7 separate regions of the Homo sapiens genome follow, and all the other regions are linked to region 7. The links are contacts of gene promoters, found by promoter capture Hi-C in blood cells and fetal thymus (Javierre and others, 2016). All regions are on one chromosome and are shown on one strand. Each heading gives the region's core, a stretch centred on a gene start or on the middle of the fragment in contact. The rest is flanking DNA. Distances are from core to core; before and after follow the strand shown.

The links. Contacts are between HindIII fragments. The CHiCAGO score rates a contact against its expected background, and 5 or more counts as called.
Region 1: a fragment that was not itself captured here is called in contact with the fragment with the promoter of EGFLAM-AS1 in region 7 in 1 of 17 cell types (M1 macrophages); the score reaches 5.8 in M1 macrophages.
Region 2: a contact is called between a fragment that was not itself captured here and the fragment with the promoter of EGFLAM-AS1 in region 7, in 8 of 17 cell types (M0 macrophages, M1 macrophages, M2 macrophages and 5 more). The highest score is 9.7, in M0 macrophages.
Region 3: a fragment that was not itself captured here is called in contact with the fragment with the promoter of EGFLAM-AS1 in region 7 in 4 of 17 cell types (M1 macrophages, M0 macrophages, M2 macrophages and 1 more); the score reaches 9.5 in M1 macrophages.
Region 4: a contact is called between a fragment that was not itself captured here and the fragment with the promoter of EGFLAM-AS1 in region 7, in 8 of 17 cell types (naive CD8 T cells, total CD8 T cells, M2 macrophages and 5 more). The highest score is 9.2, in naive CD8 T cells.
Region 5: a contact is called between a fragment that was not itself captured here and the fragment with the promoter of EGFLAM-AS1 in region 7, in 1 of 17 cell types (naive CD8 T cells). The highest score is 5.4, in naive CD8 T cells.
Region 6: a fragment that was not itself captured here is called in contact with the fragment with the promoter of EGFLAM-AS1 in region 7 in 2 of 17 cell types (M1 macrophages and total CD8 T cells); the score reaches 6.0 in M1 macrophages.

The regions. Positions count from the first base shown.
Region 1 is chr5:38,892,944-38,896,855 of GRCh38, reverse strand. All of the region lies in intron 7 of OSMR (oncostatin M receptor), which reads right to left. Among named protein-coding and RNA genes, the nearest start is that of OSMR, 49 kb to the right of the region's middle. The HindIII fragment of the contact is 2,090 bases long and covers 1,224-3,313 here.
Region 2 is chr5:38,796,934-38,800,728 of GRCh38, reverse strand. The region is part of intron 1 of OSMR-DT (OSMR divergent transcript); the gene reads left to right. Among named protein-coding and RNA genes, the nearest start is that of OSMR-DT, 47 kb to the left of the region's middle. The HindIII fragment of the contact is 624 bases long and covers 1,794-2,417 here.
Region 3 is chr5:38,835,088-38,839,415 of GRCh38, reverse strand. All of the region lies in intron 1 of OSMR-DT (OSMR divergent transcript), which reads left to right. Among named protein-coding and RNA genes, the nearest start is that of OSMR-DT, 8.6 kb to the left of the region's middle. The HindIII fragment of the contact is 2,533 bases long and covers 292-2,824 here.
Region 4 is chr5:38,912,207-38,916,402 of GRCh38, reverse strand. The region is part of intron 9 of OSMR (oncostatin M receptor); the gene reads right to left. Among named protein-coding and RNA genes, the nearest start is that of OSMR, 68 kb to the right of the region's middle. The HindIII fragment of the contact is 6,135 bases long and covers 1-4,196 here.
Region 5 is chr5:38,931,193-38,935,037 of GRCh38, reverse strand. OSMR (oncostatin M receptor) reads right to left here. Exons shown (of 18, transcript NM_003999.3): 16 at 3,074-3,155; 17 at 2,503-2,575; 18 at 1-2,166. The coding sequence ends at 1,594. Among named protein-coding and RNA genes, the nearest start is that of OSMR, 87 kb to the right of the region's middle. RefSeq lists an enhancer at 1,412-1,581. The HindIII fragment of the contact is 2,288 bases long and covers 1,407-3,694 here.
Region 6 is chr5:38,875,921-38,880,213 of GRCh38, reverse strand. OSMR (oncostatin M receptor) reads right to left here. Exons shown (of 18, transcript NM_003999.3): 3 at 3,841-4,013. Among named protein-coding and RNA genes, the nearest start is that of OSMR, 32 kb to the right of the region's middle. RefSeq lists enhancers at 478-977, 978-1,479. The HindIII fragment of the contact is 218 bases long and covers 1,636-1,853 here.
Region 7 is chr5:38,425,148-38,429,064 of GRCh38, reverse strand. It overlaps EGFLAM-AS1 (EGFLAM antisense RNA 1), which reads left to right and starts at 1,689. Exons shown (of 2, transcript NR_046737.1): 1 at 1,689-1,973. EGFLAM (EGF like, fibronectin type III and laminin G domains) reads right to left here. Exons shown (of 22, transcript NM_152403.4): 14 at 1,813-2,056. RefSeq lists an enhancer at 1,268-2,467. The HindIII fragment of the contact is 14,108 bases long and covers 1-3,917 here.

The sequences.
Region 1 (3,912 bases), core at 1,019-3,518, 470 kb before region 7:
ATGATAAAAGCACTAAAAAAAAAACGGGTATAGAAGGAACATATGTCAACACAATAAAAGTCATATACGACAGACCCGTAGCTAGTATCATACTGAATGGGGAAAAACTGAAATCCTATCCTCTAAGATTGGGAACAGGACAAAGATGCCCACTTTCACCACTGTTATTCGACATAGTACTGGAAGTCCTTGCTAGAGCAATCAGACAAGATAAAGAAAGGAAGGGCATCCAAAATAAAAAGGAAGAAGCCAAATTTTCCTTGTCTGCAGATGATATTATCTTATATTTGTTAAAACTTAAAGACTTCACCAAGAAACTATTAGAACTGATCAACAAATTCAGTAAAGTTGCAGGATACAGAATCAATATACAAATATCATTAGCATTCCTATATGCCAACAGCAAAAAATTTGAAAAAGAAATCAAGAAAGTAATCCCATTTACAATAGCAACAAGTAAAATTAAATACCTAGGAATTAACTTAACCAAAGCAGTGAAGTATCTCTACAATGAAAACTACAAAACATTGATAAAAGAAATTGAAGAAGACTCAAAAAAGGAAACATATTGCATGTTCATAGATGGGAAGAATCAATATTGTTAAAATGTCCATTCTACTCAAAGCAATCTACATAGTTACTGCAATCCATATCAAAATACCAAAGACATTCCTTACAAAAATAGAAAAAACAATCCTAAAATGTATATGGAACCACAAACCCAGAATTGCCAAAGCTATCCTAAGTAGAAAGAACTAAACTGGAGGAATCACATTAGCTGACTTCAAATTATACTATAGAGCTATAGTAACCAAAACAGCATGGTAATGGCATAGAAACAGATACATAGACCAGTAGAACAGACTAGAGTACCCCAAATAAATCCAAACATCTACAGTAAACTTATTTTTTACAAAGGTGCCAAAACACATACACTGGGGAAAGGACAGTCTCTTCAATAAATAGTGCTGGGAAAACTGGATATCCATAAGCAGAAAAATGAAACTAGACACCGATTTCTAGCCACATAAAAAATCAAATCAAAATGTGTTAAAGACTTAAATCTAAGACCTTAAACTATGAAACTACTACAAGAAAACATTGGGGAAACTCTCCGAGACATTGGAATAATTTATGCAAGTAAAATTTCTTGAGTAATACCCAACAACCACAGGCAACCAAAGCAAAAATGGACAAATAGAATCTCATTAAGTTAAAAAGCTTCTGCACAACAAAGGAAACAATCAACAAAGTGAAGAGACAAACCACAGAATGGGAATACATTTTTTCCAAACTACCCATCTGATAAGGGATTAAGTAACCAGAATATATAAGAAGCTCAAACAACTCTATAGGAAAAATAATCTCATAATCTGATTTTAAAATGGTCAAAAGACCTGAATAGACATTTCTCAAAAGAAGAAATACAATTTGCAAACAGGCATATGAAAAAGTGCTCAACATCATGGATCATCAGAGAAATACAAATCAAAACTACAGTCTAGCTAGTGGTCTATCAATCCTGTTTATCCTTTCAAAAAACCAGTGTTTGGTTTCATTGAGCCTTTGTATGGGTTTTGGGGTCTCAATTTCATTCAGTTCTGCTCTAATTTTAGTTATTTATTTTCTTTTCTAGCTTTGGGGTCAGTTTGTTCTTGTTTTTCTAGTTTCTCTAGGTGTGATATTAGATTGTTAATTTGAGATCTTTCTAACTTCTTGATGCAGGCATTTAGCACTATAAACTTATTCTTTACACTGCTTTTGCTGCATCACAGAGATTTTGGTATGTTATGTCTCTGTTTTTGTTTATTTCCAAGAATTTTTTAATTTCTTCCTTCATTTTGTTGTTTACCTAAAAGTTTTTATTTTTTTTTTGCTTTTATTGAGACTTGATTTATGGCCGAGCATCTGGTTAATCTTGCAGTATATTTTGTGTGCAGATGAGAAGAATGTATATTCTGTGGTTGATGGGTGGAGTGTTCTGTAGATGTCTTTTAAGCCCAATTTGTCCAGTGTTGAATGTAAGTCCAGAATTTCTTTGTTAGTTTTCTCCCTCGATGATCTAATGCTGTCAGTGTGGTGTTGAAGTCCCCAACTATTTTTTTGTGGTTGTGTGCTTATCTAAGTCTCTTTGTAGGTAATAAAATAAGAAGTACTTGTTTTATGAACCTGGGTGCTTCTGTATTGGGTACATATATATTTAGAATCAATAAGTCTTCTTATTGAATTGAGCCCTTTATCATTATGTAGTGCCTTTTTTTTGTCTTTTTTAACTGTTGTTGGTTTAAAGTCTGTTTTACCTGATATAAGAATATCTTTTTGCTCTTTTTGGTTTTCCATTTTTATGACAGATCTTTCTCCAACCCTTTACTTTGAGCCTATAGATGTCATTACATGTAAGATGGGTCTCTTGAAGATAGCAGACAGATTGGTCTTGTTTTTTCTTTTTTTTTCTTTTTCATTCAATAATTAATTTAATTCACTGTGCCTTTTAAGTGGGGGTGTTAAGACTGTTTACATTCCAGATTTATATTGATATAGGAGGTTTTGATCCTATTGTGAAGTTGTTAGCTGGTTGTAGTTTCTATTCTGCGGTTCCTTTATAGGGTCTATGGGCTAGGTACTTAAGTGTGATGTTGTGGTAACAGGTATTGTTCTTTTGTTTCCACATTTAGAACTTCCTTAAAGATTTCTTGTAAGGTTGGTCTAATGGTAACAAATTCCCTTAGCAATTGCTTATCTGAAAAAATATTTTATTTTACCTTCACATATGAAGCTCAACTTGGCAGGATATGAAATTCTTGGTTGGAATGTCTTTCCTTTGAGAATGCTGAAAATAGACCCTCAATCTCTTCTGGCTTGTAAGGTTTCTGCTGAGAAGTCCACTGTTAGCCTGATGGGGGTCCCTTTGTATGTGATCTGACCTTTTTCTCTAGTTGCATTTAAGATTTTTTCTTTAGTGCTGGCCTTAAACAATCTGGTGCCTATATGCCCTAGTGATGTTCGTTTTGTGTAGAATCCAGCAGGTGTTCTCTGGATTTCTTGTATCTGGGTGTCTACCTCTCTAGCAAGATTACAGAGGTTTTATTCTATTATTCCCTCAAATTTGTTTCCCAGATTGATTACTTTTTCTCCTGCTCTCTCAAGAATGCCAACACTTTGTATGTTTAGTGGCTTTACATAATGCCATATTTCTTAAAGACTTTGTTCATTTTTTAAAATTATCTTTACTTTTGTCTGACTAGGTTTGAAAAAATCATTCTTGAAGCTCTGAAATTCTTTCTTCTGCTTCATCCAGTCTATTAATAAAGCTTTAAATTGTATTTTGAAATTCCTTAAGTGAGTTTTTCAGTCCCAGTAGTTCTAATTGATTTCTTTTCAAGATGTTTCTCTTTTTTCATTTCCTGGACTGACTTAGAAGTTTCTTCATGTTGATTTTCAACTTTGTCTTGGATCTCTTCGAGCCTCCTTACAATTGATGCCTTAAATTCTTTATCTGTCATTTCTGAGTTTCCATTTGGGTTCAGGAGCTAGAGTGATCCTTTGATGTTGTCACAACATTTCGATTTTCATGATGCCAGAATTCTTATGCTTTTTCCTTCTCATCTGGAGGGGGTAAGGTCTTTTGGCTTTGCACCTATAGCCCTAGGTACTTCTGTCAGCAGGTTTCATTTGGAGCTGCATGGCTTGGCCTATAGGCCAGTAGATGACACTTGCGGGTAAGAGCCAGCTGCTACACAAGTAGGCAGGTAAGTATCCTGTCTGTGTTTACTGTGAAGTGCTCTGTTTTTTCAGGTGAAGCCCTGGACAGTAGAGTGCCCAGTACTCTGGGGTTCCTGTTCTGCAGAGGTAGGGTGACAAATGTGGGCAGAGCTGGAGCCCCTGGCTTGCCCACAAATACCCCAATGGTGA
Region 2 (3,795 bases), core at 856-3,355, 370 kb before region 7:
TTGCTTGCATCAGTTCATTTATTCCATCAGCCCGATAAACTGGTTCTATTATTAGCCTCAGAGCTAATAATAACACAGAGAAGTTAAGTAACTTGCCCAGGGTCACACCACTGTGCTTCTGACTATGAGTGCAGGAAGCCTGAGCTCCCACCAAGACCCACTCCACCCTCGGCCTGACATGAGGCTGGTCTCAACTCTATTCATCTCCAGTGAGGAGCTAGATTGTCCTTGAGTCCCTCCCAGCTCTAATGTTTACAGTTCTGCTGCCCCCGCCAGCACCTAGCAGAGACATCACATAGTGGGTGGTCTGGTGCTATGTACTCGGAGACCGATTGTTAAATCAAGGAATTGATTTCAGACTACAACGAGCACAACAGAACAAAGAGGGCAGACAGTTGGAAGCCACGACCTGGGAGGGTGGCTCTGCGTGGAAAGATGACCAGGTGAAAGGGATGACGTAAGAGGAACGTTTGTGCATCCCTTTGTGCTTTTGGCCCTTGGGTTAGCTGAGTGAATGGGCAGAGGGATGTGTCAAAGTCAGCCAAAGGCTACTTTCACTGAGGATGTGGAAAGCTGACTATCCCTGCATAAAAGAAGTGTCAGGAATTTGGGCAAGTCAAGCCTAAGAGCTAGAGAAAAGATGAAAAAGCCTCTGGAGTGGGTGTGACCCAAAAAGTAAAAAATAATTCTACATGACTGGAATTTTCCACGGCCACTGGATGTTAGGCCGGTAATGTCTGACGTTCAATTTTAAGTTGATGCCTGTGCTGTTCTGTGTGGTAATAATCCTTCATTAGCACTAAAATATCCGTGAAAGTCTGTTGCACACACAGTCTTTTGTTAGTGGTGCTTTGAGGGAATGAAGTAATAGGAATGGCGTTGGTAACGGAGAAAAATAATGAGGAAGACAGATGATGCTTGCAGGAGATAGCACAGAGAGCAGAGACAAAACATTTAGGAGAAGCAGGAAGAGGTGTCAGTGGAAATATGAGTCCCTCAGGAATCCTCAGATGTGTTGGCTGAACACGAGGCTTAACGAAAGTTAATTGAACATATGAGAGAACAGGAAGATCCTCAAGTCTGAGGCACCTGGGACACCCAGGAGGCCAACATGTGGGTTACTCAAGGTAAAAGAAGAAATTGAGAGAAAAGGTACAAAGTATGATTTCCCCAGTGAAACACAGAGTAATAAAAAGGACACTTCTTAATCTGCGTAGGTTTTAAGAAAAAGAAAAAATCCGAGGTAATGCCTTCGTCCACGCAGGGGTTAGATGACATAGCTCCACCTCAGATGTTCCTCAAGTCCTGTGTATGCCCTAAATAGATCTCCAATTCTGGTGAAAATTGGAATTACGGGGACTTTTCAGAATACTACTGTCTGGTCCCACTGCAGGAAAAGAGGCTGATGTCTTTGGGTCAGCAGCTGGCCTGTGCATGGGACTTTTAAAAGCTCCTCAGGGCTGGGCACAGTGGCTCATGCCTTTTATCTCGGCACTTTGGGAAGCCAAGGTGGGAGGACTGCTTGAGGCCAGGAGTTTGACTTGAGACCAGCCTGGGCAACATAGCAAGACCCTATTTTTTTAAAAAAAAAAAAAAACTAGCTGGGTGTAGTGGCGTGGGACTGTAGTCCTAGCTACTCAGGAGGCTGAGGTAGGAGGATCTCTTAAACCCAGGAGTTTGAGGCTGAAGTGAGGTAGGATTGTGCCACTGCACTCCAGCCTGAGTGAGAGTGAGACCCTGTCTCTAATAAAAAAGCAAACAAACAATAACAACAACAAAAAGAAATAAAAGCTTCTCAGGAAATTTACTGTGTAGCCAAGGTTGGAAACAACTGCCTAGAGCGCTATGCAACGAACACACACCTGGAGACAGGAGGGCGACAGCAATTATGTAGAAAGGCTTGAGAAAGGAAAATAAATCTTGGGACCCCAAAATCACTAAGCCAAAGGGAAAAGTCAAGCTGGGAACTGCTTAGGGCAAAACTGCCTCCCATTCTATTCCTAAAACAGCTACTAAGATAAAAAAGTTACACACCTCCCTCACACTTTGCCCACAAGGAAATTAAACTCTAAGTTATCCCCCCTGCTTACGTGAGACAAATGCATATCTGATTGCTTCCTTCGCCCTATTGTTTAATGCAACCATTCGTCTTTTATCTACCTAAGACCTGGACCCTTCCCACTTCGAGGTGTCCTGCCTTTTCGGACCAAACCAATGTACACCTTACATATATATTTTTTGATGTCTCGTGTCTTTCTAAAACGTATAAAACCCAGATGTGCCCCGACCACCTTGGGTATATGTCGTCAGGGCCTCCTGAGGCTATGTCATAGGCATGTCCTTAACCCTGGCAAAATTAACTTCCTAAATTGATTGAGGCTTGTCTCAGATACTTTTTGGTTTACAGGCTTTAAGCTTCAACCAAATGTGTGTTTTCACATTTCTTCGTTTTAAACTTATTTGTTGGTCACATCGTATTAGGTGAGTGTGAGGAAGCTAGTAATAGGAACATTAATATCAGTTATAATATTCATACTGATTTGGGAGTGCCAGGAAGGGAAGAGCGTGGTCCCTTTAAATGATCTGGAAAGGGGGAGGGGAAGTGCCGGGTAGAGGAGGGCGTGGTCTCTGGCTAGGGCTCTACCCCCACGGACCTAGGTGGGGACAGGCACTCCTGCATTCCTGCTCAAATGTTGCATTTTCCAGGACCACTCTGGCCCGCGACACCCCCATCCTGTGCCTATAAAAACCCCGAGACCCTAGCAGGCAGACACAGGTGGCCAGACGTTGAGAGGAGCACATCAGTGGAAGAAGACACATGAAGCTGGTGGGCGAGAGGACGTCTAGGGGAGCATGCTGGTGGCACACCGACAGGCCGTCCACCAGCAGGCCATCCACCGGTGGAATGAGGTGGAGTTTGGCCGGGGCAGTTGGAGGAGAGCCCGGGCCACCGCAGCCCACTCCGGGGGAAACCAGCTCCCTTCTGGCTCCCCCATCTGCTGCGGGCTACTTCTGCTCGATAAAATCTTGCACTCATTCTCCAAGCCTAGGTGTGATCTGATTCTTCTGGTACACCAAGGCAAGAAACCCCGGGATACAGAAACCCCTCTGTCCTTGTGATAAGGAAGGGGGTCTAGTTGAGCTAACAAACAAGCTGCCTACAGATGGCTAAACTAAAAGAGTATCCTGTAACACATGCCCACTCGGGCTTCAGGAGCCATACACATTCACCCCTAGACACTGCCGTGGGGTCAGAGCCCCCACAGCCTGCCCTTCTGTATGCTCCCCTAGAGGTTTGAGCGGCGGGACACTGAAGAAGCGAGCCACACCCCCATCGCACACCCTGTAAGGGGGACAAAGGAATTTTTCTCGTTTCAGTACTAAGAATGTTACCCAGAATAAAGAGTGGGCCTTTTCTTGCATAAAATCCTAGCAAAAACTCCAAGAGAAAAGCGGGGACATTGGATCACAGTCGGTAGAAGGTACCTTAGGATCTCTTGGCATCTGGGTGATGAAGGCAGAGAACAACATGATAGGCTCAGAGGTCGGGGGGGCTTCAACTATCCTCAGATATCCCCCTCTAATATTGGGACTAGAAGTTCATAGCTTTAAAAGTAGGAAAGAGCTTTAGAAATCATCTAGTTAAACTTATGTTGTTAATAGATATTTTTTAAAACTGAGGCTCCATGAAGTAAAGTATCTGACCCAGGAAACCCAGCCATTTAGCTGCAGAACCAGAAGTAGGGTGGAATCTTTGAACAACTGGCCTATTACCTCCCTACCCTTCAGATGCAA
Region 3 (4,328 bases), core at 309-2,808, 410 kb before region 7:
TTATCAACTATGTGCTTAGAAGTTTTAAAATTATTATTTACCCTGCCTGGCATTTGCTAAGCTTCTTGAATTTATAAATTTATGTCTTTTACCAAATTGGAGAATTTTTCAGCCTGTATATCTTTTTAGTACCTTTTCTGCACCATTATCTTTCTTATCTTTTTGAAATTCCGACTACAAGTATGTCAGACCCCTTAATATAGTCCTAAATGCCCATGAGCCTCTGTTGTTTTTCAACTTTTTTTCTGTGCTCTTCAGATTCAATAATTTCTATTGAACTATCTTTAAGCTTACAAATTCCTTTTGTGTTATATTCGTTGGGCTATTATATCCATCTAGTAAATTTTGTGTCATATATATGGTATATTTCAGTTCTAGAATTTCAATCTGTTCTTTTAAAATATATTGTCTATTTCTATACTGGTTGTCCCTATTCTTTTTATTATTATGAACATATTTTCCTTTGCTTCATTGAGCATAGTTATTATAGTTGCTGCTTTTAAAACATTGCTTCATTATTCCAATATTTACATCATCTTTTAGTCAATCTCCACTGATTTTTTTCTTTTATAAGAATGGATTACATTTTCCTGTTTTTTTTATTTACCTATTTTTGGATTGTCAAATAATTTTGGAGTGCAACCTGTGCGTTATAAATATTATGTGATGAAGATTCTGTTCTATTCCTCCAATGACACTGATTATCTTTTAAAATGGCAAGCAGTGTGGTTAAACTCAAACTGCAAACCTGATATTGCTTACAGTAAGTAGAAGCTCAAATCTGAATTCACTTTTTAATGTTGACCAGGCTGCTTTGAGTTTGCCTTGCACAAGCATGGTTCAGAGATTATCCAATAATTGGTATTTATTTTAAATACAGAATTTGGGCTTCTTCCTCTCTTGCTCCCTCCTTTATGTTTTCCCGCCTCACTTTCCAAATAATGTTGTTGCTGTGAACCCTGACCCCTGGTTCTTCAAACTAGAAATATTGCATATTTTCTAACAGAGTTTTAGCTACCTCACATTGCACAGACATGCACTAGTCTTGGGCTGAGGGTCATAAAATTTGGGAAAGTTGCTCCATGCCTTTCCTCTGCCAAGTGTTGACTTTCCTCCACAATCTGCCTGGTGTTGGTCACTCTCCACTGCCGATAATTGTTTTTAATTTTTAACAATATTTTTCTAGTGTTTTATATTGTTATATGTTGGGGAGGGGCAGTCAATTAAACAGAGCTACTCAGCAATGGCTGAAAGTAGCACTCCCTGCAATTGTAGTTATATCTGCTAAGTGGCTAGGTTATTGGGAGGAGCTAGTATGAACTGTTTCCTTTGCTAAATTAGATTTCTCTCCAGTAGAACATTCTTTTGGATGCAACCCAGTTTTTCAGAAGATTGAAATACATTTGCATAGACCTAAATCTGGAAATTGAGTAAAAACCTTCTGAAATCAGGTACGGTTAATCTATTATGGCTGAACATCACTTTAGAATGAAGGCTTAAATAAATATTAATACCACTATAATACAAAGGAAAGAATTTTAATCAAAAAAAGAGAATAGTTAAATGCATTCTTGGATTTCCTCTGAACTTTGTTCAAATGCTAAACACAAAATTCATTTGAGTGAGTTACAGTAAGCTATACCTTTATGTTTGTTACCTTATTTGTGCTTAACTTACCTCCATGTACACTAAAACAAAAACTTCCTAAAAGCACTCACTTTTATACTCAATCTTATCAGCTACTTAAATGTAGCTCCTTTTGTCCAATTATACTGTGGCCTATGATGCTTAGTCACTTTGGAATAATGGTCAGATAGTTTTCATACTCCCACGGGAAATATATGGAGAACAGGCTAGGGAAACATGTTTATTCAAATTTAATACGAAGCAACCAAGCTAAGAGAGAAAATGATAGCACACCCAAGAAAGAAAGAAATGTTATTATATAAATTTTCTTAGCTCTCAAACCACAAATAATTATAAGAACTTATCTTCCTATCATAAGATCATGGAACATGATGCCTAAACATAAAATTGTAAATGTTTGTTTTGAAAAAGAAGACAGGCTGGGCATGGTGGCTCACCCCTGTAATCCCAGCACTTTGGGAGGCCGAGGCGAGCAGATCACCTGAGGTCAGGAGTTCAAGACCAGCCTGGCCAATATGGTGAAACCCTGTCTCTACTAAAAATACAATAATTAGCAGGCGTACTCATGCATGCCTGTAGTCCCAGCTACTCCAGGGGTTGAGGCAGGAGAATCGCTGGAACCCAGGAGCTGGAGGTTGCAGTGAGCCGAGATGGTGCCGCTGCACTCCAGCCTGGGCAACAGAGCGAGACTCCATCTCAAAAAAAAAGAAGACGACAATAGGCAATTTCTTCTGAAAATCTTCCCTGTTTTTAAAAAGAATAAAAAAGTTAAAGAATATTCTGCTTGACTGGATATTTAGGCTTACAAACATCCATACTTGCAAAATTATATACACACACACAAACACACGAATGCTCATTAGAAGAATATTGTAGTAACAAAGAACTACAATCTAAAAATCTGCTAATAGAAGACTGAAAACTATGATTCATTCTTTCAAAAGAAGGAAGATTATATATGTGTGCACCTATGGAAATATGTCCATCATGCACAACTCAGTGAAAAAGCAGAAGTCAGAAATGTATATATAGTATATCCATTTCATCTATTTAATTTCTTAATATTTATGGAGTAGATACATAAGAATGTTCTGGATAGGATTACAAGAAATTGGTAACAAGTTATTCTTGTGGAGAAGGTCTTTATAAAGATGAAGGATGAGGAGTAAGAGAAGCTTGTGCTTTTCAGAGCTGTCTGTGCAGATTGGCTTTTTATCATTGGTATTTTTACTTCTTAAAAATAATGATTTTTGAAATCAAAGAATGCCTTGCTAGAAAAGAAGCATCACTTGTTATTTTTTGAATGTTATATTCAATTTATAATCAATAAATATTTATAAAATGCTTATATACAAGGTATTGCACTAGGTTCTTTGGATAATCCATAAAACAACTTGTGCCTTGGTCCCTGTCCTCAAGAAGTTTACTGTCCAGTTGTGGACTATGACAATAAACGCTATTTGTGATAAGCACCGATTGAGAAGCACAGGCAATAGTCTTTCAGGAGTTCAGAGGAGTGATGACTTTTGACTGTTAAGGAGGAGGGGTTTAAGAGCTACGAGAAAGAAAAAGTACGAGCCTAGGACAGATAATAGAGATAACAACAGAATTATAGGAAATGAGCAAGAGGGTGTGTCTGAAAGGGGATCTTCCTCCTGACAAGGAGGGCTGATTTTTCTTATGGGAACAGCAAGATTGTTTGCAAGCATACTTTGTTGGTGAAGGCATCCTTTTACCAACTATTTCATTAGCACTATCCAGCTCTGCATGTCTCCAGGGACAGTGCTGGCTTGATTAAGCTCTGAATGGGTTTCTGAGTTGCAGGGAAACTGGAGGGAGGAGAGACCCATTTTCTACAGTATAGCCTTGTCAGAGCTGAAAGGAAGGTAGTACTTCCCAGTTTAAAGAGAGGAAGAAACTAAATTGCTTGCTGGAACCAAAGAAGACCCAGAGATGTCTGACTGACTGTTAGGCAGTGAGGCAGAAATTCCAGGCTGGTAGAAAGATCTGAACAAAAAAAAACAGACTTTATTGAAAAGGCAATTCCCAGGCCTGCTAAATGGAAAGAGAGATGTCTATTGGAAGGAAGTAAAACATTCTTCATAAAGAAGGTTTGGAGCCAGATATAAAGAAAGATATTGAATGTCATATGATAATTTTTGCACTGAAATAGACAAAGGATAAAAGTTTGACAGTTCATAAAGGATGCATTTTTTAAAAGAAAAAGAGGATAGAAAAGGATAAAATATGTCTTAAGATATATTTTAAAAAACAAAAAACAGGCCAGGCACGGTGGCTCACACCTGTAATCCCAGCACTTTGGGAAGCCGAGGCGGGAGAATCACAAGGTCAGGAGTTCGAGACCAGTCTGGCCAACATGGTGAAACTCCATTTCTACTAAAAATACAAAAATTAGCTGGGTGTGGTGGCACATGCCTGTAATCCCAACTACTTGGGAGGCTGAGGCAGGAGGATCACTTGAACCCGAGAGGCGGAGATTGCAGTGAGCCAAGATTGCGCCATCACACTCTGGCCTGGGCAACAAGAGTGAAACTCCGTCTCAGGAAAAAAAAAAAAAAAATTAGTTTCCTCTAGGAAAGTCCCTGGGTGCCTAAGGGTCAGAGAGGAGAGGCTTAAGTCTCCCTTTTTCTGTCTTTTGAATTTTTACTTATATAAATATA
Region 4 (4,196 bases), core at 246-2,745, 490 kb before region 7:
GTGAAAGTAAAAGTGAAGCCAAGATTTGAACTCAAGGTAGTTAGGGTCTGGTCATTCCATTATTCATCTTTAGAAAATGGATGGTCAATTGAAGGCTCAGCTTGCATGACAAGTTCAACAAAATTCTCATTTAAAAAAAATCTCAGCAATGGAAAAATAATGAAATCATTGCAATTTATTTTAAAATCTTAAAAAGGCACACGTTTTAATCATTGATTGATAAAAATATTATGAAAGTCCTATTAAGATGAGTACATCTTTTCGTTTGTAAATTGTTTTGTTGGATTTATGTAATACTCTGTATTCCACATAGAATCAAATTTTCTACTGATACAATTTTGTCATGGTATGAACTTCACAAGAATAGTACAACAAGAAGTAGTCAAAAGAGAATTTAAAACATTCATAAGCCACAAGAAATATCAGGCTTTAACTGATGAAGATATAGATGACCCAATTATAGCACATCCATGGAGACAAACAAGAAAGGGACTCACAGGTATTGATGTCATTCTGCAACTGAGTCCTAACAGCACATCTCATTTTTAAATCCAGACATAAAAAACATCTTTATCTCTCTACTCAATCACATTTTGTGAACGTGCTGCTTCAGCTTTCTGAATTTGAAAATACAACTATAGCATGTCTCATATGACTTCTATTTTTAATGTTTACTTTGAAACTTCCCTTTAATTCTTAAAGATAGCTTGAATATTTTAGCATAGCCCCTAATAAAAATAACTGAATTAAATTCAAGTATCTAATTAAGAGAGTTAGTAGCACTGCTACAAACCTAAATAACTTTTGTGATAACAAAAATCAATTTAAATACAAGATGTGATATAGAGTTGTTAGTTTCATAATCTAATGGTTTAATAGTCCAGATTCCATTTTAGAGTAATGATATAAAATCCAAATTACTTATCAGTAGGTTCCTTAACTTTACATGAATTATTTTTCTTCCAACTCTTCCAACTTTTCTTCCAACTCTCAGTTTGCCAAATCACAAACTTTATTTTAATCGAGAAAAACATCCTTTTTGAAAGGTGCAAATCAGTATTTTACCAGTCTACTATCATTGATAGGGTTTACTATATTTCAAAATACATATCCCAGTGCTGTCAAATTTTTGAGAAATTATGATTTCATTAAATTAGAGTTGGTTATGAAAACATAAATTCAAAGTCCATCACCTGAGTGCTACTTTAACCTCCAGACTTCTTTGTGCATGCTATTATGTTCTTGAAAGTAATTTAGCATATTTCCATATAACTCATTCATGTGAAACCATAGTCAAATACTTCATCATTCTGTAGTTAATAATCAAATTTAGTGAATCATATCCCTCCCTATTACATTTTACTTTCCTTTGAAATACTTTTAAAAATACTTCCTAGAAACTCTCTTTTTATAATTTTATTTAGAGTCAGGGAGTACATGTGCATGTTTGTTACATGGGTATATTGTGCAATGCTGAGGTTTGGAATATGAATGATCCCATCACCCAAACAGTGGGCATAGAACCCAACAGTTAGTTTTTCAACGCTTGCCCCCTCCCTTCCTTCCCCTTCTAGTAGTCCCCAGTGTCTATTGTTTCTATCTTTATTTTCATGAATACCCAATGTTCAGTTCCCACTTAAAAGTGAGAACATGCAGTATTGGATTTTCTGTTCCTGCATTAATTCGCTTAGGATAATGGCCTCCAGCTACATCCATGTTGCTGGGAGGAACATTATTTCATTATTTATTCCATGGTGTATATGTACCATATTTTCTTTGTCCAATCCATCATTGATGGGCACCTAGGTAGAGTCCATGTCTTTGCTATGGTGAATAGTGCTGTGATGAACATATGCGTGTTGGTAGAATGATTTATTTTCCTTTGAATATATACCCAGTAATGGGATTGCTGGGTGGAACAGTAGCTCTGTTTTGAGAAATCTCCAAACTGCTTTTTACGAAGGTTGAACTAATTTATATTCCCTCCAACAGTGTATAAGTGTTCCCTTTTCCCTGCAGCTTCCCCAGAATCTGTTGCTTTTTGACTTTTTAGTAATAGCCATTTTGACTTGTGTCCTCATTAGAAAAGGCAATAGATGCACAGAGACGCTCAAGAGAATACCCTGTGAGCAGACATAGATGACCATCTACTAGCCAAAGAGAGTGGCCTCTGAGAAACAACCTCAGCCAACAGCTTGATGTCAGATTTCTAGCCTCCATAATTATGAGACACTAAATTTCTCTTGTTAAAGTCCTTCAGTCTGTGGTACTGTGTTATTAAAGCCCTAGAAAACTGTTACAACCTATTAATACACATGGAATATATTCCCTGCATCATGGTTGAAATGAAACCAGAGTTTTATTATGTCAGGCTCCACTTGCATTTGAGATCTGAAGCACTGTGGAAAATGGCCTCCCTTAAGAAATATTATGAAGACATGTGAAGAAGGCTCCTGCCCTGATGGGGTTACAGGGATGAGTTCTGTGAGATGACACATTGCAAACAAATGCGTACAGTAGCTTAACCTTCCCCCTTTTTGTGTAACACCTCCTTCTGTGCAAAAACGTTCTTGTAAGAACATTGGCTTTTAATACTTACAGAAGGTCTAGCAGGACAGTGGTGCTGACTGCTACAGAAGCTACCTGGGGTAGCTAAAGAATAAAAACAGTAACAACATGCAAAGATTTTTAAAAATAGCCTTTCTGATTGGTGTGAGATGGTGTCTCATTGTGATTTTGATATGACTTTTTCTGATGATTGGTGATGTTGAGCATTTTTTAATGTTTTTTGGCTGCTTGTATGTCTTCAGAACTCTCTGTTCATGTCTTTCACCCATTTTTTTTTTTTTTTTTGAGATGGAGTCTCACTCTGTCGTCCAGGCTGGAGTGCAGTGGCACGACCTCTGCTCACTGCAAGCTCCGCCTCCTGGGTTCATGCCTTTCTTCCACCTCAGCCTCTTGAGTAGCTGGGACTATAGGCAGCCACCACCACGCCTGGCTGATTTTTTTCTATTTTTAGTAGAGACGGGGTTTCACCACGTTAGCCAGGATGGTCTCAATCTCCTGAACTCGTGATTCTCCTGCCTCGGCCTCCCAAAGTGCTGGGATTACAGGCATGAGCCACCGCGCCTGGCCCTTTTGCCCACTTTTTAATGGGGTTGTTTGCTTTCTGCTTGTTGAATTGTTTAAGTTCCTTATAGATGCTGGATATTAGGTGTTTGTCAGGTGCATAGTTTACAAATAGTTTCTCACATTCTGTAGGTTGTTGCTTACTCTTTTGATAGTATCTTTTGTGGTTCAGTAGCTCTTTAGTTTAATTAGGTCTGACTTGTCAATTTTTGTTTTTGTTGCAATTTCTTTTGAAGACTTAGTCATAAATTATTTCCCAAGGCCAATGTCCAGAATGGTGTTTCCTAGGTTTTCTTCTAGGATTCCTATAGTTTGAGGTCTTACATTTAAATCTGTAATTCATCTCGAGTTAATTTTTTCTACATGGTGAAAGGTACAGGTCTAGCTTCATTCTTCCACACATAGCTAGCCAGCTATCCCAGCACCATCTATTATATTAGGAGTCCTTTCCCCATTGCTTATTTTTGTTGACTTTGTAGAAGATCAGATGGCTGTAGGTGTGTAGTTTTGTTTTTGGGTTCTCTATTCTGCTTCATTGGTCTATGTGACTGTTTTTATACTGGTACCATGATGTTTTGGTTACTGTAATCTTGTAGTATAGTTTGAACTGGGGTAATGTGCTGCCTATTGCTTTGTCCTTTTTGCTTAGAAATGCTTTGTCTATATAGGCTCTTTTTTGTTTCCATATCAATTTTTTGAATAGTTTTTTTCTATTTCTGTGAAAAATAACATTGATAGTTTGATAGAAATAGCATTGAATCTGTAAATTGCTTTGGGGAGTCAGTGATTTTAATGATATTGATTCTTCCAATCTGTGAGCACGGAATATTTTTCTATTTCTTTGTGTCACCTATGATTTCTTTCAGCAGTGTTTTCTAGTTCTCCTTGTAGAGATCTTTCACCTCCTTGGTTAAATGTATTACTAGATATTTTTGTGTATGTGAGTATCGAAAGTAGGATTGCGTTCTTGACTTGGGTCTCAGCTTGAATCTTATTGGTGTATAGAAATACTACTGATTTTTGTACATCGATCTTGTATCCTGAAACTTTGCTGACTTTTTTCTTTT
Region 5 (3,845 bases), core at 1,301-3,800, 510 kb before region 7:
CATGGTGAAACCCCATCTCTACTAAAGATACAAAATTACCTGGGTGTGGTGGTGCATGCCTGTAATCCCAGCTACTCAGGAGGCTGAGGCAGGAGAATTGCTTGACCCTGGGAGGCGGAGGTTGCAGTGAGCCAAGGCTGCACCATTGCACTCCAGCCTGGGCAACAAGAGCGAAATTTCATCTCAAAAAATAAATAAAAGTAAAATAAATGTGACAAATAATGTGACAAATAGGCTGGGCATGGTGGCTCACACCTGTAATCCCAGCCCTTGGGGAAGCTGAGGCAGGTGGATCACCTGCGGTCAGGAGTTTGAGACCAGCCTGGCCAATATGGTAAAACCCAATCTCTACTAAAAATATAAAAACTAGTCAGGTGTGGTAGCATGCACCTGGAGTCCTAGGTGCTCTGGAGGCTGGGGCAGGAGAACTGTTTGTTTGAATCTAGGAGGCGGAAGCTGCAGTGAGCTGAGATTGCACCAAAAGAACCAACATGTACTAAAATACCAGTTGTGTACCAGGTGCTTTGCATATATTGGTTTGGGATATATTGGTTCAGAGGAGACAAAGCTGCTCCAGAGCCAACACGGAATTTCCCACTTCATAGAACTTTTTAGTTATATCTAAATTATGTCCAACAATGAGGTTTCATTTTACTATTTTAGCATAATATGAATATAAATGTGACTGAGAGTTATCTTGACCCAGACAACCTACTGCAGAGTCCAAAGGATGCTAAGTGAAAACAGGTCATTTATATATAGTTCTTGAAAGAAAAGAGGAACCAAAAACTGTGACTGGAATTATGTGATATACGTTCCTTTTTATGTTCTGAGGTAGTCATCAAAAATGATGGCAGAATACTGATGTCTATGGAGCAGAAGTACAACTGACAGTAAGTCAGAAGTTACTTGCCAATCCCATTCTTTCACTGTAGTAAGCTTGACAGAAGAATTGTGGAAATCTTGTTGATTCATCACACATTTTATATATTAGATTAGAGCTATGCCCCCCGCCCCCACCCACAGAGTTAATTTTACTGTGTCAGTGAACTATAGATTCTTATCCGTTCAAGGTAAGTCTAAAATCTGTTTTGGCCTCAAACACCTGTGAGTTTTTTATAAAACACGCTCAGTAAATTTACATTTGACAATCTATGCTATAGTAATGTCTCCTGTGGCCTTTATTAAAGCCTTCAATATAATAATTGCTGTTAATGGAAATATTTCCTCAGTAAAAACTGAACTTCTAGGACCACAGCCACCCTGTACAGTACTGAGTGGGAGTCTGTAGAGTGGTTAATGCATATCCTTAGGTCAAGCTCAAGTCTCCTGTTCTAAAGGTGAGCCTGGAACAAACAGCAGAAGGTAAGCATGCTCCCATGATCCTGCCGTCTCTAGGGCAAGCTTGCTCCAATGGGGAGTGTTAAGTTCCATAGCCTCTGGCCTTTAACCTAGCCAGACTGTAGTGGTCTTATATAAACCAGACCTGCAAATCGTACTGGGATTAAGGACCAAGGCCACTGGTGATGACAGGGTGCCAGCTCTGCTCTTCTTAATGTCTGTGTAGCATAAGGTATGAAATCGGCATGCTGGTTAGCAGTAGTGTTCACCTGGATCTAAAAGGGTAATTGAGGAGAGGCTGCTATTCTCGGTCGGGGGAGGCAAGGCAAGACGCAGGGAGACTGCCATTTGCATTTTATACTCTGAACAGTGTGGTGCCTCTACTGGGTTTGTTGGGAGACTGTCCTTGTCTCCAAACATGGGTGAAGCCAACTGGGACACATAATTCAAACTTGTTTCTCCAGCTGGGATTTCTCCCAGGGAGTTCATGTAGTTTTTTTCTAGTGCCTTTAGTACATTTTCAGGTGAGGTCATTAGTCCCAGCATACTTGGGGCTTTTGGGGATACTGGAACATGGCCACAAGAGCCAGAGTCAGAAGCTGCCTGGTTATAGGTCAAGTTCTCAAAACAGATGCAGGGGCCAGGGCCAGAGTGATTCTTTTCTGTTGGAAGGAGATAAAGGTAGTTAGGCTTAGTCAACTCGGTTTCTGTGAGTGACTTCCTAGTGCCTAGGAACTGTATCTTTGTCCCTTCTGGCTTGCTTACAACTTCAATAGCATCTGGGATACAGTCACTGACATTCATTATTATTAGGTGAGGGTTCTCCTAGAAAGGAAACAAAAATATGTAAATATAGACATTTGTGTGTGTGCATGCATGCATCAAAGTATATTAAGCATGTGAAATACACTTAGAGCTTCAATGTTCTTCATGTTTCTTCCTGGTCACAAGTAACCTGGAGGTGATGTTGAAAACCAAAAGATTTCCCCTGACAGAAGAAATCAAAGCTCCAATCACCTATTTCATGGCTGTGGGTGCAAAGATGGCTTTTACTGTGCTATATTTTCCTGAGGAGCTCTAGGAAAGTAGGATTCTGACAGCCCCCACTCTGGGTTAGTCCTTAATAGGTATATGGTATACATACAATTTGCCAACATTTACCTTGAATTTTATTAATGACAGGATGCTGCTCTTGTAAGGGTCAGGGATGTCAGGATAACAGGTCTCCTTGATCCTAGAAAAAAAAGCGAAAATGAGACTGAATTTCACAGTACAGTGGACGAGTTAAGAGCAAGAACTCTGGAGTCAGATTCCTGGCTTCTAATCCTTGCGTTGTAACTTATTAAGCAAGTTACTTAATTCTTCCATGCTTTAATTTCTTATGGCTAAATGGAGATAATTATGGTACTTATAGTGTCCCCATGAGGATTAAATGAATTAATTGATAAAGCACTTAGAACATTGCCAAACATACAGTAAGAGAGATATAAATATTAGCTATTGCTGTTGAAAAAATTTTGTGGTCTATTTTAAATGGTGATTAGTTTCCTCATATAGCCACTTGGAAAACAAAATTGTGAAATAAATTACATACTCTCACCCCAGCCTCCTTTGTTCTTTTCCTTTTTTATACGTTGTTTCATATTATTCAATGTCATTTCTATCTTACTAAATCTCTTTCCAGACTTTTCTCTTACTCTCTTCTTGGATAAAACCTTCCTCACACACTTACCACTGACTTTTCAAGTAGCACATGACCATGATGAGCAAGACGCAGAAAACCATGGGCAGTAGGATATGAATCAGCATCGAGGCTGAACGAGGAAAAAGAAAGGGACATTTTTAATAAGTACTTTTCCCTTCCTCAAAGGAATAAATACAAGTTTATGATTGAAAGTAATTTTACATGTTTATTATTTCTCAAATTATGTATGCAAGTTGTAATATGAATTCTGCCTGACTTCAGGGGAAAAGCCAACCAACCAACTAGCCAACCAACACAGGAAGCCATTTGCCATCAACACCGTGTGTCTCAAATTTGTTACTATCTATCTCTTCTGATAGATTGGATCATGACTTGCTGTATTAAAATTATGCTTTTCCACCCCTGCCAAAACTTCATGGTAGGTGAGAATACTATCCTGCCCCTTGACTTGGGGCTCAGCCATGTGCATTGGCTTGGCCAATGGGCTGTTGGTAATTGTAACGTAAGTGCTTTAAATGTGCATGCATACATCGGCTTGCCCTCTTGTGTTCCTCAGCATGAGAAGTGTGTGCCCCAGGTAGCTGCTGCGACTTCAGCCTTAGCCCTAGAATGAAGATGCGTGAAACAAATCTGAACCTGACTGAAGCTTGGAGTCCAGCTTACCCCAGTCTAGATCAGCCAAGTCTCGGCTGACCTGTAAACCCATGAGCATAAAAAGATAGATTTGTTCTTGTATGCCACGGAGCTTTTGAGGGTGTTTGTTACACATCAAAAATTGACTAGTGCACTCCTTCTAGTT
Region 6 (4,293 bases), core at 495-2,994, 450 kb before region 7:
TTCTACTAATTATGTCTGCCCCCTATTCAGGTCACAAACTTGAAACAGTGCCCCTGACAGAATTAAACCCAGCCCTGGGCTGAAAACATCCTGGTCCACCCAGGGGGCATTTAATTGTGGGCTTCCTTTCTCACTCTCTGCAGACTGTGTTTTTTTAAATGTTTATATTTTATTTCCATTTCTTGCATTACTTTACTCCTAGATCACAAAATATGTTCCTTAACAAGTTGTGAGGTCCTGATCCATGAAACCCTCACTATTTAACATGAGCAATGTCAAGTACATTTTGCTTAAATATTTTTAAAATTTAAGAGCAAATATCCCAGGACTTTGGGAGGCCAAGGCAGGCAGATCATGAGGTCAGGAGTTTGAGACCGGTCTGACCAACATGGTGAAACCCCATTTCTACTAAAAATACAAAAATTAGCCGGATGTGGTAGTGCGTGCCTGTAATCCCAGCAACTCAAGATGCTGAGGCAGAAGAATCGCTAGAACCCGGAAGACGGAGGTTGCAGTGAGCTGGGATTGCGCCACTGCACTCCACCCTGGGCAACAGAGTGAGACTCCATCTCAAAAAAAAAAAAAAAAAAAGGAGCAAATATTTCCTCTCTTCCCCCAGACCCCTGCTAGAAGGAAGTACATCAATAATGGCAACTTCGCTCTAATGCCAACAAGTCACAGACTGAACTTTACCTCCCTTCTGTCCCTTAAATGCAGCCACTTCTCTTACCCGCATCTCCGCTTTGGCTGAACCCTACAGCTCGCTTCCTAGCGGCCACACATCCCTTGCCCCAGTTCCCCACCACATTCCGCTGTGCGGCTATTCAAATCAGAGCTTGCCACTTCCTTTGTTCTTATTGCCCTTGGGATAAAAAAACAAAACCTGAGCATGCACTCCATGGTCCTGTGCATCTAGGCCTGTGCCCCTGTCCTCATGTGCTTGGGGATCCAGCACCACAGCGGGCTTTCAGGCCTGGAAATTCCCTTCTCTCAGCGCCTCTGCTCATGCCTGTTGGGCCTGCTCAGAGCACTCTTTTCTACTCTACTTGCTAAAGTAACTTCTATCCTCTTGGATATTTGGTCTCAAACAGCCCTTTATCCAAATTGTGGGAGAAGGTGAGGCCTAACCCGAACCTCATAGCATCTCATCAGTGACCTGCACACACAGCCCGTGTGTAGAATACCCTATGCGTGTGTTCACCTCCTCATTCTTTCCAGTGTGCTCAGCGCTGACATTCCCACACTGCGCACAATGCCTGATCTGGGAGCACAGGCTAAAACTCTGGACTGAATGATTTAATCATTTCATTAATATGCAATGAGTTGTATTTCCCCCAGACACTATTTATGTGTGGAACCTGTTTAACCTCAACTTCTGCTTTGTGGTCTTTACAGCCCTGTTAATGTAGGAGATAAAACTTTTCCTTAAGTACTGCAATTCATTGATTTTTTTTCTTTAAATATGATGAATTGTCTTTGGGTCATTTCATTTATTGAAGTGGCAGGTTTAATTTGATCCTTGCAGACATCAGTAAGTCACAAGAAATTGGCACACACATTTACACAGAAGTCTAATAGAGGTCACTGATTTGTTACTGAGACATTTGACTCCCACACCTGGCCTCCTTCCAAGCTTGAGCTCTTACTCTACTTTGCCTTCCTATGCCATTGACAAAATCAAAAAGCAAAGGGAAGGGGAGGACCATGACCCAGGAGGGCAGGACCATGCAGTTCAGGGTTCCAAATGGCCAGTACCATCCAGGAGACAGGTCGGTGCCTCTGGTCCAGCTGCAAGTGCTCTTCCTTTGACTTGTTTGGGAACAGAGGTGTCCGAGACATTGAGTCCAGAAGCTTCCCCCCAGCCCCCAGCATGAATGAGAGTGCCCTGTCAGGCTTGCACTACAGGGAGCTTCCCTGTATAAGGGAGATTTTGGTCTAAACAGAAGCAGCATCCTCCTCCTTAACTGGAGGAGGATAGTTCTCGTCAACTTCAGGCATGAGTGATTCAGACAAGCATTTCTCAAGGCATCATCTATTCCATAGGACATGTGTCCACCGATGGCCTGGGGGCTGCATGTGACTGTCATCCCTTTCTGGGCACAGGAGTGAAGGATGATCCCACCCTGCCTCTGTCACCTGGAGCAACACAACAAACCTCTCTGTGCTGTGGTTTCTCCACTGTTGTAGTCAGGCTGGGTTGGGTGTTGTGAGGACAACACGATAGACAAGGCAAAACTCTACCCTGAAGGGTCTTGAGCCCTAGAAGATTACAGAAATAGTCCACACTAGCTGCTTTCCCTTGAAAAGAGGACTCTTACGGGAATCAAATATGAAAACAGATATGAACAACTGCTTTTTAGGAAAATAAATAAAAAAATCCACTTGGTGTATGGCTAATATTATTTTTTGTAACATAATAATAGATATGAGTTGTCTTTTGGAAAAATAAAGAATAGGATCCATGTAGTCTATGGTTAATGTTATTTTTGCTAACGGTGCTAAGTGCTAGTTTTCCACAATTCCTCCAGCACTTCCACCTCAATTTTTCTTTTTGTAGATAATCCTTAGTCTCAATATGACCTTTGCTTCAATGTTTTACCGGGCCCAAATTACCAACAAGTGTACCCATTAAAAATACAAAAATCAGACTTGCTAGTATAAGGTGAGATAGTGGAAAGATGTGTTGATAGCAGGGAGTAAACAGCTACACAGAAGTATTGCTGTTGTTGAAAATCATCATACTAAATAAGTCTCATTGTGGGAAACTGCCCTTTGAGAGGTAGAATTATAGACTAGGTATGAATCCTAAGTGGACAGAGTCAAAATTTTATTTAACTTGCGCAGATCTCAAATTTCAATAATGAATATGGAAAGTAACTGAAGATGTTAAAATTAGTGACTTGTATGCCTTACCAAAGGAACTAACCATGCTGTATGTGTGTACCCAAAGCCTCCACTACCTGGGTGAAGACAGGAGCCTGGTTGAGCTGACAGAGGGCCCAAGCACAGTCCTAGGCTTCTCTTACCTGTAGGAAAATTTTCAGTTCCTTTAATGAGAAAACATTCCACTGTCCTTAAATATCCCGTGAAAATGACTGAACATTATGTGCATATAGATTACTAGAGTTCCCAGATGAGAAATGGAAATCATAAACCACTCATGTGTCCTAGTGCACTAGATGGGGACACCTCAGGCAAAACTGACCCAATAATCATTTGAACTAAGTGAAAAATCCACCCCAAAGAATTCAAAGACAAAAAGAGTGTGAAAGTCAGTATTTTCTTAATTTAATTTGTTGTGGAAAAAGCCACATGTAAGGCAACAAAGGACACAGGAAGTTACTCTCCAACATGGCTCCTTGTTGGATGGAACATTAAGTGCTAGCACTTACTCTTCCCTGCACTTCAGCTGGGTATAGGCCAAGAAACTCTCAGGAAGCTACATTGGAAAGAAAAATGTTGCCAAATTATTACATCTTATTTAGGAAAATCTCTGGAGGACGGAGAAGAAAGAGGTAGGAGGAATGAATTGGTTAATCTTCGTGGCTCTCTGGAATTCAGTATTCACGAGGACAGACTCAACAGTCTTCTTAGAAGACAGAGCAAAACTGAGAAAATCTATTTTCTTAGTGCATCCCATCCTACCTACCAAACCAAAGTTGTCATGTTACTTTGTCCTGGATCATTAACAGAAAATGCAGAAATGTAATTGTTTAGACAAACTGTTTTGAGCTGCTAATATATTTCCAAAACGAGAATTTTTCAGATGTTATAAAAGAAAACCAAGGTGTCTTTTTTTAAAGATGATTTTTTAAATATTGAGCCAAAAAAATTACTTACCACCCAGATGACATTGGATGTTTCAATCCTACTGATCTGGATCTGAAATACCATTTTCAATTCCTGATGATAAGGAAGGTTGTGGACAGTCCATTGTAAGTGCAAACTCTGACGCGTAGAATTGGTGGAAACTTTAAGTGATACAGGAGTCAATGGTAAACGTTCAGCCAAGACTGAAAAGATCAAAATGAAGTATGAAATAATATTTAATAGGAGCATGATTGAAGAGTCAGAAATAATTAAACTTGAATATCATCATTATTTAGCTCTGGAAAATATTGCTCATATGTGCATCCTAGAATCAGACACCTTGGAAATCTGGAAGAGAATTTAGAAATCACTTAGCAGACACAGAAATTAAGATCTAGATGAATGAAATGACTTGCTCAATAATACACAGCAAGCTCATACATTGATAAACAGGTAAACAAAACAGAAGGATCCTTTATTGGA
Region 7 (3,917 bases), core at 440-2,939:
TTCACTGCATTGTCTTAATTGAGCAAGAAGTCTTTGAAATGGTTTTCAAAATAAACAGCTTCCAATGGGGCATCTGAAACACCAAGAGTAATCACTGTTGTTAGCTTACGCTCAGGAGGGGATAGGATAAGGGGGCAGATGGTGGTTTGTCCCTCAGAAACTCTTGCCTCATTTTCATCACCTAATTCTTAAAAATTCTTTTTCCAGTTGCCTTTGCTGACAGGCAGTGAAACAATAACTTAGTAAATTTACAAAAAAAAATTAAAAGCACCTCGTGTCAAAAATAAGCACAGAGTTATGAAAGAGAGAAATGCTGGACTTCTAAGGGTTCCATGTGCTTGTGACCCCACAGCTGGAGCTGCCACTGCAGAGAGGCAGTGTGGAGGGGGTAGTCTGTCCAGGAGGAGGGCTGATGAGCCCAGAACCTCTCCTGGATCTTTCTGGTCATTCCCTATCCAGGAAGAAAACCATTTAAAAGTGCAAGGTGATATTCAAGGTGTCTTCCTTTGTCAACTTGACATACAGTTCTAAGTGAATTGCTTAGGCTATTTTGCATAATCATATGTAAATTGAATCAATTAAATCCCCACCAAAGTTGTCTTGAAATATAGGATGTTTTTGCATAACCAGAGGTACAACAATATTTGTCCGTTCCCCTAGAGGGGAAGGTGTCACTGATGTGCAGGAATTCAGCCACAAGGACAAAAACAAACCATCCTTTTTAAGAACTGTTAAAACCTAATGCAGTGAGCATTTTCTATCAGCCAGGAAAAATGATCAGTAGTTAAGGGCAATGCATGGTTGTAGCATCTCACCTACATACTCTTTTTAAACATGACAGTCTAGCAATATGGATAAAGATTGAAAACAGTTTGCAATATTCTTTGAAACAACAGACTAACTGATACCCTGTTACAGGGCACCATGGAGCAAAACATCCTAGTGAGTTTCAAAAAAGACGAATTAGACAAATGTAGGAACAAGAAGCATGTCTGCATGCGATTAGTGGCCCCTCTGGCTTGAAGGTTAAAACTACCATCAACACAATAAAAAGATGGGAGACATAAACAAATAAAAGCGTCTGCATCTACCAACTACAGGCTCCAAGGAACAATCGACCTGCTAAGTAATTTAATAGTACAAACTAGATAACAGTAGGAAAGTTTTGACTACTTACACCAATTCTGCAAATACCAGCAAGTACTGCAGAAGCACCCATTTCCTGCTATGCTATTGAAACCACTCATCACACATCTTTCTTGAGCATATTGCTTAGGGAACGGGTCTCTGCATTGCTGATGATTCACTGTCAATTTCCATTAAAGAAATAGTTCAAGAGGAAAGTGAATATTTAGAGTGAGGTCATCAAGGATATTTTTGTTCAAAAATATTTGTTAATACTTTTTTACTAGTTGACATGTATTTGCTGGGTGCCCATCATGTGATGCTCTGTATGAGATGCTGACTAGTTACAGTTCATCAAGTTTCTGCGGATGACATGACATAACTTTAGGTGGAAATGGAGGCAGTTTACCTCCACCTGAAGCAAGTCCATTTTCCATAGTTTGAAGCATACAATTGCTACCTGTTGGGTAGTTATTTGAGAAAAGGAAGCCTTGTGGGCAGGAGAGCACTCTCTATAGGAAGCCTGTCATCTGCCTGAAGCAGGACAAGTCAGGACAAGTTTCAGAAGATAAGCATGTAGAGAAGACAGGATGAGTGTGAGCTGTTGAATGGCGATTTGGTTTTTTTCTGAAGCAGTTACTATTTGCCTTTTTAAGGGAAAGAGTCCCAGAAGTTTTCAGCCCTCACCTGAGGACACCGGTCCCAGAGCCACAGTCAAAGCGGAACTCCACGTGGCCCCCTGCCAAGTTGATGGACAGGAAGTCTTTGCTGCCTGTGTCATAGCTGTACAGGAGGACACCATCTCCTGAGTCTGGCCGAAATGTGATCTCAAATTCCATGAAGGAAAGGTAATGCTGGGGCTCCAGTGGCCAGGGAGTTGCAGCGTAAGATCTCAGAGACTCTCTGAACTGAGGAATGGTCAAGGTGAAAGCTGAAAAAACAAGCATGGTGTTAGAAATCCCTCTGTGGCAGAAACTGGCCAGATGTGCACCCATAGCTGTGTTCTTTCCCTCCTGGGTACAGACCTAAACTACAATTCCCAGCAGCCCTGCAGTTAGGTTGGTGGTGTGACTGAATTCTGGCCAGTAGAACATGGGTGGAAGAATCATAGAGCACCCTAAGTCTGGCCCCTAAAACTTCCCTCCATCCTCCATGCTCTTTCTCTCCTCTCACGTGCTGGCAGGATGCAAGTATCAGTGGAGGACTCTAAGGCCCTAGAAGAGCCATTAGATGGAAGGAAACTGTGTCCCTGTATAACTGTGTGGAGCAGAACCCCCTCTCTCACCACCATCTTTGACCTGCAGTGATTTTGTAATATGAGCAAGAACCAGCCTTGATTATGTAAGGCTACTGAAATATGAGCTGGTATGTAACAGCATTGGCTTACCCTGACTCACATGCCCTCTTTTAGGTGACATGAGATTTGAGATCACAAAAGTTTTCCCCAATATGGTATCTTAGGTCCAAATCTGAATTAGGGAAGAATTTGACTAGTTTTGTGATCTTAGCCTCAGTTTTATTTTCTTTTTATTTTAATTTCAGAATTCTGCAAAAATGATTTTCCAAAATCACTTTTGGAACCCTCCATGATTTTCCAAAATCTTTGAAATTTTCTGTTATTATTTGCCTGTGTGAGCGCACATATGTGTATTTGTGTGCATGTGTTTCCATGTTTATATACACATGTGTGTGCATGTATATATATTTACATACTCTCTGTATATACAGTATTAAAATGTGGCATAATTTAGTAGAACAGTACAAAAAAAGGTTACTTTTGTCCCATCACATTGTTAACGTTTCTGTGTCTACCTTCCCTATCTTTTTTTTTTTTCCCAAGATGGAGTCTCGCTCTGTCACCCAGATTGGAGTACAGTGGTGCTATCTCGGCTCACTGCAACCTCCGCCTCCTGGGTTCAAGCAATTCTCCTGCCTCAGCCTCCCGAGTAGCTGGGATTACAGCTGTGCACCACCACACCCAGCTAATTTTTGTATTTTTAGTAGAAACGGAGTTTCACCACGTTGGCCTCGTGATCCGCCCACCTCGGCCTCCCAGAGTGCTGGGATTATAGGCGTGAGCCACTGCGCCTGGCCTCATCTTCCCAATCTTTTATCAGAAATTGACAGAAATTCTAAAGAGCATGAGCCTGAGCTTTAAAGGCTTTGAATTCAGTCTGATACAAACCATACCAATACAGGCTTTTTAAAAGTTATTCAAGGGCCAAGAGGAGCCCACTGATTCTTAGCATCTTGAAATGAACATATGTTTGGCTGAGGGACGGAGGTGCCCTGCAGTAAGAAGTGCTGAAAGGCTCAACATCAGATGAGTGAGTTCTCATTACCAAACAAATTTTGGCACTCAGAGACACTCCAACCTTGTTTAAAAAGTTTCCCCCATCTCTCCCAACAAAGCAATGTTGATCCCATAAAAATGTATGGGGCTTTGTTAGATTTGTTAAAAGTACATTGATGAGGCCTGGCGTGGTGGCTCACGCCTGTAATCCCAGCACTTTGGGAGGCCGAGGCGGGTGGATCACTTGAGGTCAAGAGTTTGAGAGCAGCCTGGGCAACATGGTGAAATCCCATCTCTACTAAAAATACAAAAATTAGCTGGGCGCCTGTAGTTCCAGCTACTCGGGAGCTGAGGCAGAAGAGAATCACTTGAACCCGGGAGGCAGAGGTTGCAGTGAGCCGAGATGCGCCACTGCACTCCGGCCTGGGTAAGAGAGGGAGCCTTTGTCTCAAAAACAAACAAACAAATTAACAAAGAAACTATATTGATGATAAAGTAC